2 separate regions of the Homo sapiens genome follow, and region 2 is linked to region 1. Evidence: promoter capture Hi-C in 16 types of primary human blood cells and fetal thymus (Javierre and others, 2016). All regions are on one chromosome and are shown on one strand. The core of a region is centred on a gene start or on the middle of the fragment in contact, and the rest is flanking DNA. Distances in the headings are between cores, read along the strand shown. Region 1 holds the start of POLI (DNA polymerase iota). Region 2 has its middle 110 kb from the start of SNORA37.

Region 1 (4,498 bases), core at 556-3,055:
AAACCACTGAGACCCAGCTCTGCTTGTTATTCCCTTTTCTTCATGGATGCATCAACATATCCTTTAAAGCAGGGGTCCCCAGTCCCCAGGCCATGGACCAGAACCAGTCCCTGGCCTGTTAAGAACCATGCCGCATAGCAGGAGGTGAGTAGCGGGCCCGGGAGTGCAGCTTCATCTGTATTCACAGCCACTCTCCACTACTGGCATGACTGCCTGAGCACTGCTTCTTGTCAGATCAGCAGCGGCATTAGATTCTCACAGGAGCCTGAACGCTACTGTGAACTCGCATGCGAGGGATCTAGGTTGCATGCTTCTTATGAGAATCTAATGCCTGATGATCTATCACTATCTCCCATCACCCCAGATGGGACAGTCTAGTTGCAGGAAAACACGCTCAGGGCTCCCACTGATTCTACCTCATTATCTATTAAAATGTAATAATAATAGAAATAAAGTGCACAACAAATGTAACGCACTTGGATCATCCCAAAACCATCCCCCTCCCTTCTGTCTGTGGAAAAATTGTCTTCCATGAAACCAGCCCCTGGTGCCAAAAAGGTTGGGAATGGCTGCTTTAAAGGGTTTCTCAAGGTTCTAATATTTTATTTGATAAGAAGTAGAATCATATAAAAAACCAAACATATGTGTTAATTTGGGTATTTATACAGATATAGTGTATATACATACATACAGGCATGGAGGAATTTCCAAATTTCCTCTATTGTAAAACATACACATACACACACCAACACACACATGCACACATGGTATCCTAATAGAAGGCAAGGAGAATAGACATTTACTGAGCACTTCCTATGTGCCACATGTTTTATATACATTAGGATATTACAGTATATGGTAGCTTTTATCCATTCATTCAATCTCAATACTTTTTTTTTTTTTTAAGAGTAGAGCAACTGAGGCTCACAGCAGTTATGTAACCTGCCCAAAGTCACACAGCATGATGGAGGGTCTGGATTGGAGATTTTGTCTGACTACAACACTCATGTATCAAATCCTATTCAGTTTTGATGTTAAAAATTCTGTGGTTGAATTCGTCACAGTGTCTTTAAATAAAACAACAACAAACAAAACACAGCAAACCTTAACATAGTTGCTAATCATATGAGTTTACAAGGCCACCTGTGTCTTTACTATCAGTTACACTCCTTCCCACCCCATCACATTAATCACTCAGGTCTAGGGATTTGCAAGTTTGCTAACAGCCGAATGGAACAAAGACAAAACGCTAAAATTTGTGATGTGGGCCTAACTCCAAAGCCTTCAAGAAAAAAAAAAAAAGGCCAGGCGCAGTGGCTCATGCCTGTGATCTCAACACTTTGGGAGGCCTAGGAGGGTGGATCACCTGAGGACAGGAGTTCGAAACCAGCCTGACCAACATGGTGAAACCTCGTCTCTACTAAATACAAAAAAATTAGCTGGGCGTGATGGCGCATGCCTGTTAATCCCAGCTACTTGGGAGGCTGAGGCAGGAGAATCGCTTGAATCCGGGAGGCAGAGGTTGCAGTGAGCCGGTATTGCGTCACTGTTGCCCACTCCAGCCTGAGCAACAAGAACGAAACTCCGTCTCAAAAAAAAAAAAAATAGCCATTTGTGCTTTCAATCTCTCCGCTTCCGGCCTCCACCCGGCGGGAAAAAACTCCCGCACGTGGGCCTCCACGATTCCTTGGCATGCGTGTCACTCTGGGCAACAGGCTGGTCGGCCACGACTGCGCAGGCGAGAGGCACAGAGCGACTGGAGACTGTAGTCCCCCGGTTTCCCTGGAGACCAGGCGGAAGCGGCCGGAAGTAGCGCTGCGGTTGGCAGCGGCGGGATGGAGAAGCTGGGGGTGGAGCCGGAGGAGGAAGGCGGCGGCGACGACGACGAGGAAGACGCCGAGGCCTGGGCCATGGAACTGGCGGACGTGGGGGCGGCAGCCAGCTCGCAGGGTGCGCCGCAGCCAGAGGAGCCAGCGGCCTCCTTGGGTGTAAATGAGAAGGGTGGGGCAGGCGGACGCTCGGGGCGGCGGCCACTGGGGCGCGACCGTCCCCGCCCCACTCGGCTCCTCTAAGAGAGGGCTGCCTCCCTCTGCCTTGTGTTACGCGGCGGGTACCTCTAGAGGAATGGCTTCACCCAGCAGGAGTAGGGTGGGGCGCGTCCACACTACAAATACGTGTCGAGGGTTTATCTGCGCCGTCCTTTCCTCTGTGAGGGGCGAGGTGGGGCGGGAATCCCTCAGCCAGCCCGACGAAAACTGCAGAGGCTTCTGGGCCTTTTAACTTTGGAGAAGTTGAGGACCTTGTCGCTCATTTGGCAGAAGGTGGGACCCGGATCTCAGTCCTGGCAGGAAGGGATGGCTCAGAACCTAGGCGGAGTCAGGTCCGCTGTGGTCACGTCTCCGGTGACCCACTTCCAGCTCTGGTCTTTACCTTGTACCGCCCACCTCAGGGCCTGGATGTAAAGGCACCGGTTCTCATTTCCTGCTGGTTTTGTTTCATTCATTAATTTAGAGACAAGGTCTCCCTGCAGCCTCGAACCCCTGGGCTCAAGTGATCCTCCGCCCCAGCCTCTCCGTCCCGAGTAGCTGGGACAGCAGGCACGTGCCACCACACCTGGCTGATTTTCAGATTTTTTTAGATCAGGTGTAGCTGTGTTGTCCAGGCTGGTCTCAAACTCCAGCCACAAGCGATCCTTCCACCTCAGCTTCGAAAAGTATTGGGATTACAGTAGTTAGCCATCGTGCCTGGCCTTTTAAATTTTGGAACTTTAGGTTTACCTGAAAGTTGCAGAGCTAGATCCCCCTAGTGTTAACATAAACTCAGTACATTTGTCAAAACTAGGAAATTAACATTGGTATAATACTATTAATTGAACTACACGCTTTATTAATATTCTACCAGTTTTTCTGCTAACGTTCATTTTCTGTTCCAGGATCCCAACCAGAATATTGTATTGTATTTTGCCTGTCTTGTTTTTAGCCAGTGTTGAGAGAAGGAGTCGCCTCTGTCATTCCCTCCCCGACAAATAATGACCTAACAACTTTTTAAAATCAAAGAACTATTCAGTCTTTCAATTTAGTGAATATTTATTGGTGGTCTGTTATGTCCTAGACACTGTTTTAGGCACTGGCGATTTAGCATTAAACCAGATAATCCTGCTGCCATGGGAGCTAAAAATAGCCCACACTTGTACCCACTGGTTGTCTTTTGCCATTTTGTATTTCAGTTTTTGTTGGTTTGTTTGTTTTAAATGTAAGGGCATGCTGCTTAGAATAATTTTCAAGCTGTGTGAAAATCAACGTCATTTCAACTTTTCTGCCCCTTCTGGTTTACACTAAGAGCTACTATAAACTTCCAGGTGATAGTATTAGCTCTTTCATCATCCATTATTTATCACATTTTTTCCCTTCAAACTTATTACTATCCTGAGAAAAACGCAGTGCACAAACAGTAATTAAGAGGACTGAAGACCCTACCCTAAGTGGAGTTTCATGTCTTTGTAATTTTTCGATGCTTTCACACATAATCCAGGAGAAAACACGTCACTCTGCATTCTTCCTTCACAGGTACCATGTTTTAAGGAACTGTCAGTTGCTCAGAGATAATAAGCAGCCTGAATTTCTTTTTATTTCTTTGCATATTGTGCAGGAGTTCATGATCAAGTGTTGCCCACACCAAATGCTTCATCCAGAGTCATAGTACATGTGGATCTGGATTGCTTTTATGCACAAGTAGAAATGATCTCAAATCCAGAGCTAAAAGACAAACCTTTAGGTAACTGTAGATTTATAATATTTTTAATTGCATAATGATTAGATTAGCAACTCATCATGCTCATTATATACTGATTTATTAACCTTATTAAGAAAGATTTTGGAAGCAGTTCTTACAGTGCTTTATAGCTGGTCATTTTTGCTTCACTACCAAGTGTAAATTTTACAAGCCTCATTTAATAAGTGGTGAATCTGAGAATAGTGTAGTCGGCAGAACAAATGAAGAGAAAGCAGAATAAATGTTACTTTTCTGTGCTGGTTAGTAGCTTAGTTTGCTGGTCAGATTTCTTTTTCTCACTATTTGAAATTTTACAGGCTTTGTTCTCAAAAACAGCCTCTTATTACATTTTAGTGGAAGTGTTCGTCTGTCCTCCCCTTTCTGAAATTATCTCTTAAATTGTGTAACATCTAACTAACTAGTTGGATTTTGAACATAAACCTAAGTATTATTAAGACAGCAAACTTGCCGTAAAAACATAAGCATCTTTTTAAATAAAAGCCAAAATAAATTTTATATTGGATATTTGTTGATATGCTAGCTTGTTTTATCATTTTTATTATTCATATTTTAAATTGAGAAAGATAAAGAGATTTTCTTTCATGCATGCAGGAAAGATTCCTCTTTTAGTGTAAGCATAAAGAACATTTTTGGTTCACTTGCTGCTACCCTCTTGTGCCCACTTTGGCTTAATAAATCCCAATCCAGCCTAGCTGATTTACTGAAG
Region 2 (4,508 bases), core at 184-2,683, 150 kb before region 1:
AGCCACAAAAGAAGGTCCCTAGACGTACTACATTATGCACGTGTCCAAGAAAACAGGCAGCTTGTAAAGCCCCAGAGAGAAAATGCCAAGGACTGAGGCAACTGTCTCAAAAGCTCCTCCTTCCCTTCCAGGTGTTAAACTAAAGCACACACATTTTCATATACTATCCATGTGTCACCCAGGCACAAAGGAGATTGACATTGCAAGAAATCAGTAAGGAGTATATTTAGTTTCACTTCTGAAATGCTCAATTAAATGTGGCTATAAGTTCATAAATTTTTTTTTTAAGTTGGGCACACATCTGTAACCCCAGCTGCCTGGGAGGCTGAGGCAGGAGGACTATGTAAGCCCAAGAGTTTGAGACCAGCATGAGCAATGTAGCAAAATCCCATCTCTTAAAAAAAAAAAAATTAATTAAAAAAAAAATTTAAAAACTTGAGTAAAGTTAATGTACCATACAAGTTTCACATCTCCAAGTGTAAGCTATTTCCCAAGGTGGAAGAAGAAGGATTGCTTGTCATGTAATTCCAAGAATCACTAATGAGACAGCCTTAACTTTCTATTCTATCCCTTTCATGAGAAATCGATGCCCCTGGACCATTGCCTATGCCAGCTCAATTATCCTCAAAGATTTAACCTCATAATATTTTATCTTATTCTGAATCTGCCCTTCGAAATTATTCTTGCCACCAACTGTATTTTTGAAACCCCATGAGATATAGGGTGTGGAATTTTTTAAAGAGAAGCACTACTTGACTGTTGCAATGGGGGAGAGATGTATTTACTAGTGGTGCATGTAAAGCACCTGGTGCCCATATGTCTATCTAACAGAGGATCCATTTTTAGTTCTAACGCTGATCAGAAAGTGACTTTTGCTGTCAATAGTAATGACAGTTAAGAGTAGATCATGGAAAATACAAGGGAAGATGGCCAAAGCCCTGAAAGCAATTGGATTGAGGATCAAAGAGCTGTCAGAACAAACAGCTGGCATCCCATTCTTGGGATAATAATAACAACAGTTTTCAGAGCCTTCTGGAGATAATAAGCTTCATTAGGCAAACAGTATAAGTGAAAGAATATCTTGCTTCTTCTTAAAAACAAAATCTTTTGTTTTTCTACCACTGGGTTTCATGATGGAAGCAAATGAAATCTCTGGATACACGAGTATGGGGGAAAAAAGCATAAGAAATTCTTCAGAGAATAATCACATTTTATATAGTGGAAAAAGAGATGCCCAGAGTAGACAAGAACAGGGCCTCTTCTCTTTACATTCTCTCATCATTTTCTTACTGAGAAACTTTCTACCAGAACCGCACTTTTGATTTGTTGTGTATATTTAAGTGTATAGAAAACTTGTGTGACTTTCATTCCGAAGTATGAGTTCAATCATTACGAACTAATATATCCTCACAAATTTCTGAAGTAACAGCTACCTCCAGATTGCATTGGGGACAGATATCTGAACACAGGGGACCCAAATGACTATAGCATTTAGGATTCTAGCACCAGGAGGGAACTGTTCCAACTGCAAAAAGAATGTTACTCCAGAAAATCACCCACCTCCTAGTACGTTACCTTGGCAGGATTTTTAATCTGTCTGGGAGAACTCATTGCATTTAGTTCAGTACTTAGATGACAAAGATGTGATTCTTTCTAAGCAAAGCCTAGAAAAGAAGGCCTATTTTTAAGAACCTTATCTGCCTATGTGAACAAGCAAGGTTTCCAGCAGAGCTGAGTTCTTTGTATTGACTTGAGAAGTGACTCCATGCATAAGCATAGCCAGCCTCTGAGATAAACAAGTCTGAGATGTAACTGGTTAGTAAAGCTTTTCAGTGAAGCAGGCATCGTTTTCTTCTCCCTCTTTAGTGTTTCATAGTTATTAACATTCAAATATAGTCACAATTTCTAAGCCAAATACTAATTTTTATGATCTGATATTTTAGATGAACTGCATTACTCCTGCCTCTGTGGGAAGAGATAACAGATCAGTGTTTCACCAGGTTTTTGTAGCTGCTTTGCTCAGAGGTCAAATTCTTGCTCCTCTCTAAAAGTATCAGTAATTGTGCAATAGATTGCAAAGACTTTCATCCAACAAGCTTGTGTGAAATACTATTACATGCTAGACACTGGATGCAAAACAATGAGAAAAACAAAGTCCTTGACCTCCAAATACCCTAGAAGAAATGGTCAAAAACACAGATTGCACTATAGAAATATACATACCATATTAGAGATATGAACAAGACCCATGCGAATCTACAGGAGCTGGTGGTCAGAGTGACTATTTCAATGTGGTTTACCAGTTATAGATAATATTTTGGGGCCCAAGAAATATTTTTGTGCTGTTGCTCAGTGTTCTGCTGGAATCTATCTGCTTTCCTAGGCAGGGCTTTACTGCCAGAGAGGACTTTACAAGCTTAAATCAAGTGTTAATACCACTATTACTATTCATCAGGCTGAAGGGTTATTTTTCTTGAATTCATCTTTAGGCGTCTCCTCTGCTAATTCAATGTCAGTGAGGTCTTTGGCTTCATAAGGATGTGAAGCAATAGAGTTACATAGGTTGGTAGATGAATAAAAAGAAGTGATACCAGAATGTAGACTTAGAGAAATTAGGATGAAATGGGAAAAAGAAATGAGAAGACTGGTTAAGAGCTCTTTCAGAAATTTATTAATAATGAATGTGCACAAAACTACTATCTGTACAATCATGTCTCAATTTATGTGTTATGTGCCATCTTAAAAACTGGACTGTGAAGTAATATTTGAGTCAAATTCTATTTCAAATGTACCTCAAGGCAATTTAAAAAAATAGTTTGGAAAATGTCTCTGTAAAGCAGAGACTCTTATAATGTGAATAATCATTTCCCTATTGTATGTCTTGTAAGTTGGAGTTTTGTCAGGTTTGCTTAATGAACGACAAACTGCACCTTCTATTTATGTTAAATAAATAAGTAATATTGAAGAGTATGCTGGAAGACTTCATCTTTCTGTGCAGTCTAGTCATTAGGTGCATGAGATCAGTTGCTCTAGTTCTGAATCACTTGCACCAAATAGACCAGTATCCCAGAAAATAGTCAGAATAGGAGGGGCAGTCTCTGCTCCAGGAAACCTTAGGTAAAAAACAAAACAGAAAGTGTTATCTAAGCCAGCACTTTTCAAAATTTAACTCATACATAAAGCACCTGGATTTTGTTAAAATGCAGATTCTAATTCAGGCGGTCTGGGGTGAGGCACAAGGTTCTGCATTTCTAACAAGTTCCTGGGTGCTGATGCCAATGCAGCTGGTCCATTTACCACGCTTTAAGCAGCAAGGATCTAAGCTAAGCTGACGAAATAAATGGCAAGAAGCATGTGTTGTACTCTGCAGTTTATCAGCAACTTGAATATCCAGGCAAAATATATTTGAGGTTTCCAAACCATATCAGTGATGAAACAGGCAGAAAAAAAGGGGGACTCGTTGAGACAATGTTTTCTGTTTCCTCCTGTTTTCTCATGTCGCATTCCCATCCCCATCCTCTCTTCTGTAGGAGGGGGCGCTCTGTTTAGTACAGGGAGTCGGCTACCATAACATTTCCAGCAGAGTCTTCCTATTTCACAACAACAGTGAAAAAGCAGGGTAACTGGGGAACGGTCAAAGGTTTAGCTTTGATCTCCCACAATATCATTCCTCTGAGCCTCCTATGCTCACTCTTTCAAAAAAAAATTAATGCAATGCCTTTTACTCTGGCTTCTTCCTCTCTTGAGATGTCTCTGGAACAATAGAGAGGTGCTGGATATGCTAAGTTTTTCCTTTGAACTAAGGCAAAAGGAGTACCTAAGCCCCAGAATACCTCTAGGCTCTAAGCACTGTATCAACTTTGAAACTAACTATGAGATTATAGTTCTATATTTTTAGAAACACATCTTTAACTGAAAAATTGTGGATAAGCCATTGCACCAACTTTTTAAAAGCCATGGCCCCAAAACAGGCACATAAAGAACTTCACCCTCTCTGGGCCTCAGAATAATTTCTGTACCTTGGTTTTCTCAACAGTCAGAGTAATCCATAAGAAGACACACCTCATATTGCCATTGTAAGGCTCCCATTTCTACATGGTTTAGAGAACTCCTTAAAACCACAAATCAATCATGACACTCAAAAGGATTTAACTTCCAATCAGTAGAAGTAAATTGCAGAAAAAATATTCAAAATCAAAATATTGCCACTTAGAAATTGCAGATCGCTATTCTACAAGCTGAAAAAAAATCAGTATATCAGAATTGTTTTTTCAAAGATATATCAGGCAAAAGTAGGATATAAGAGCAAAAATTCTTGCAAATGGCATGCCATGCCAATTAATTCTACATTTATTTCTTCTTAAAATCTCTTTTTTGTATGATGACTATTTTATGCTTCAAAGGAAAACCAGCGTATACAAAACAATTTCTATTGCTAAATACCCTTTCTGTGTGCACAAAACCACTATAAGAATACACATTCACTTAGGATAGATATCAATATTATA

Evidence for each region. Contacts are between HindIII fragments. The CHiCAGO score rates a contact against its expected background, and 5 or more counts as called.
Region 2: a contact is called between a fragment that was not itself captured here and the fragment with the promoter of POLI in region 1, in 1 of 17 cell types (activated CD4 T cells). The highest score is 6.5, in activated CD4 T cells.

The regions. Positions count from the first base shown.
Region 1 is chr18:54,267,712-54,272,209 of GRCh38, forward strand. POLI (DNA polymerase iota) reads left to right here and starts at 1,806. Exons shown (of 10, transcript NM_007195.3): 1 at 1,806-1,950; 2 at 3,649-3,774. The coding sequence starts at 1,836. It overlaps LOC124904307 (a long non-coding RNA gene), which reads right to left and starts at 2,194. Exons shown (of 2, transcript XR_007066379.1): 1 at 2,115-2,194. RefSeq lists enhancers at 1,168-1,317, 1,578-1,707, 2,238-2,287 and a silencer at 1,918-2,167. The HindIII fragment of the contact is 5,901 bases long and covers 1-4,498 here.
Region 2 is chr18:54,114,991-54,119,498 of GRCh38, forward strand. No RefSeq gene overlaps it. Among named protein-coding and RNA genes, the nearest start is that of SNORA37, 110 kb to the right of the region's middle. The HindIII fragment of the contact is 779 bases long and covers 1,045-1,823 here.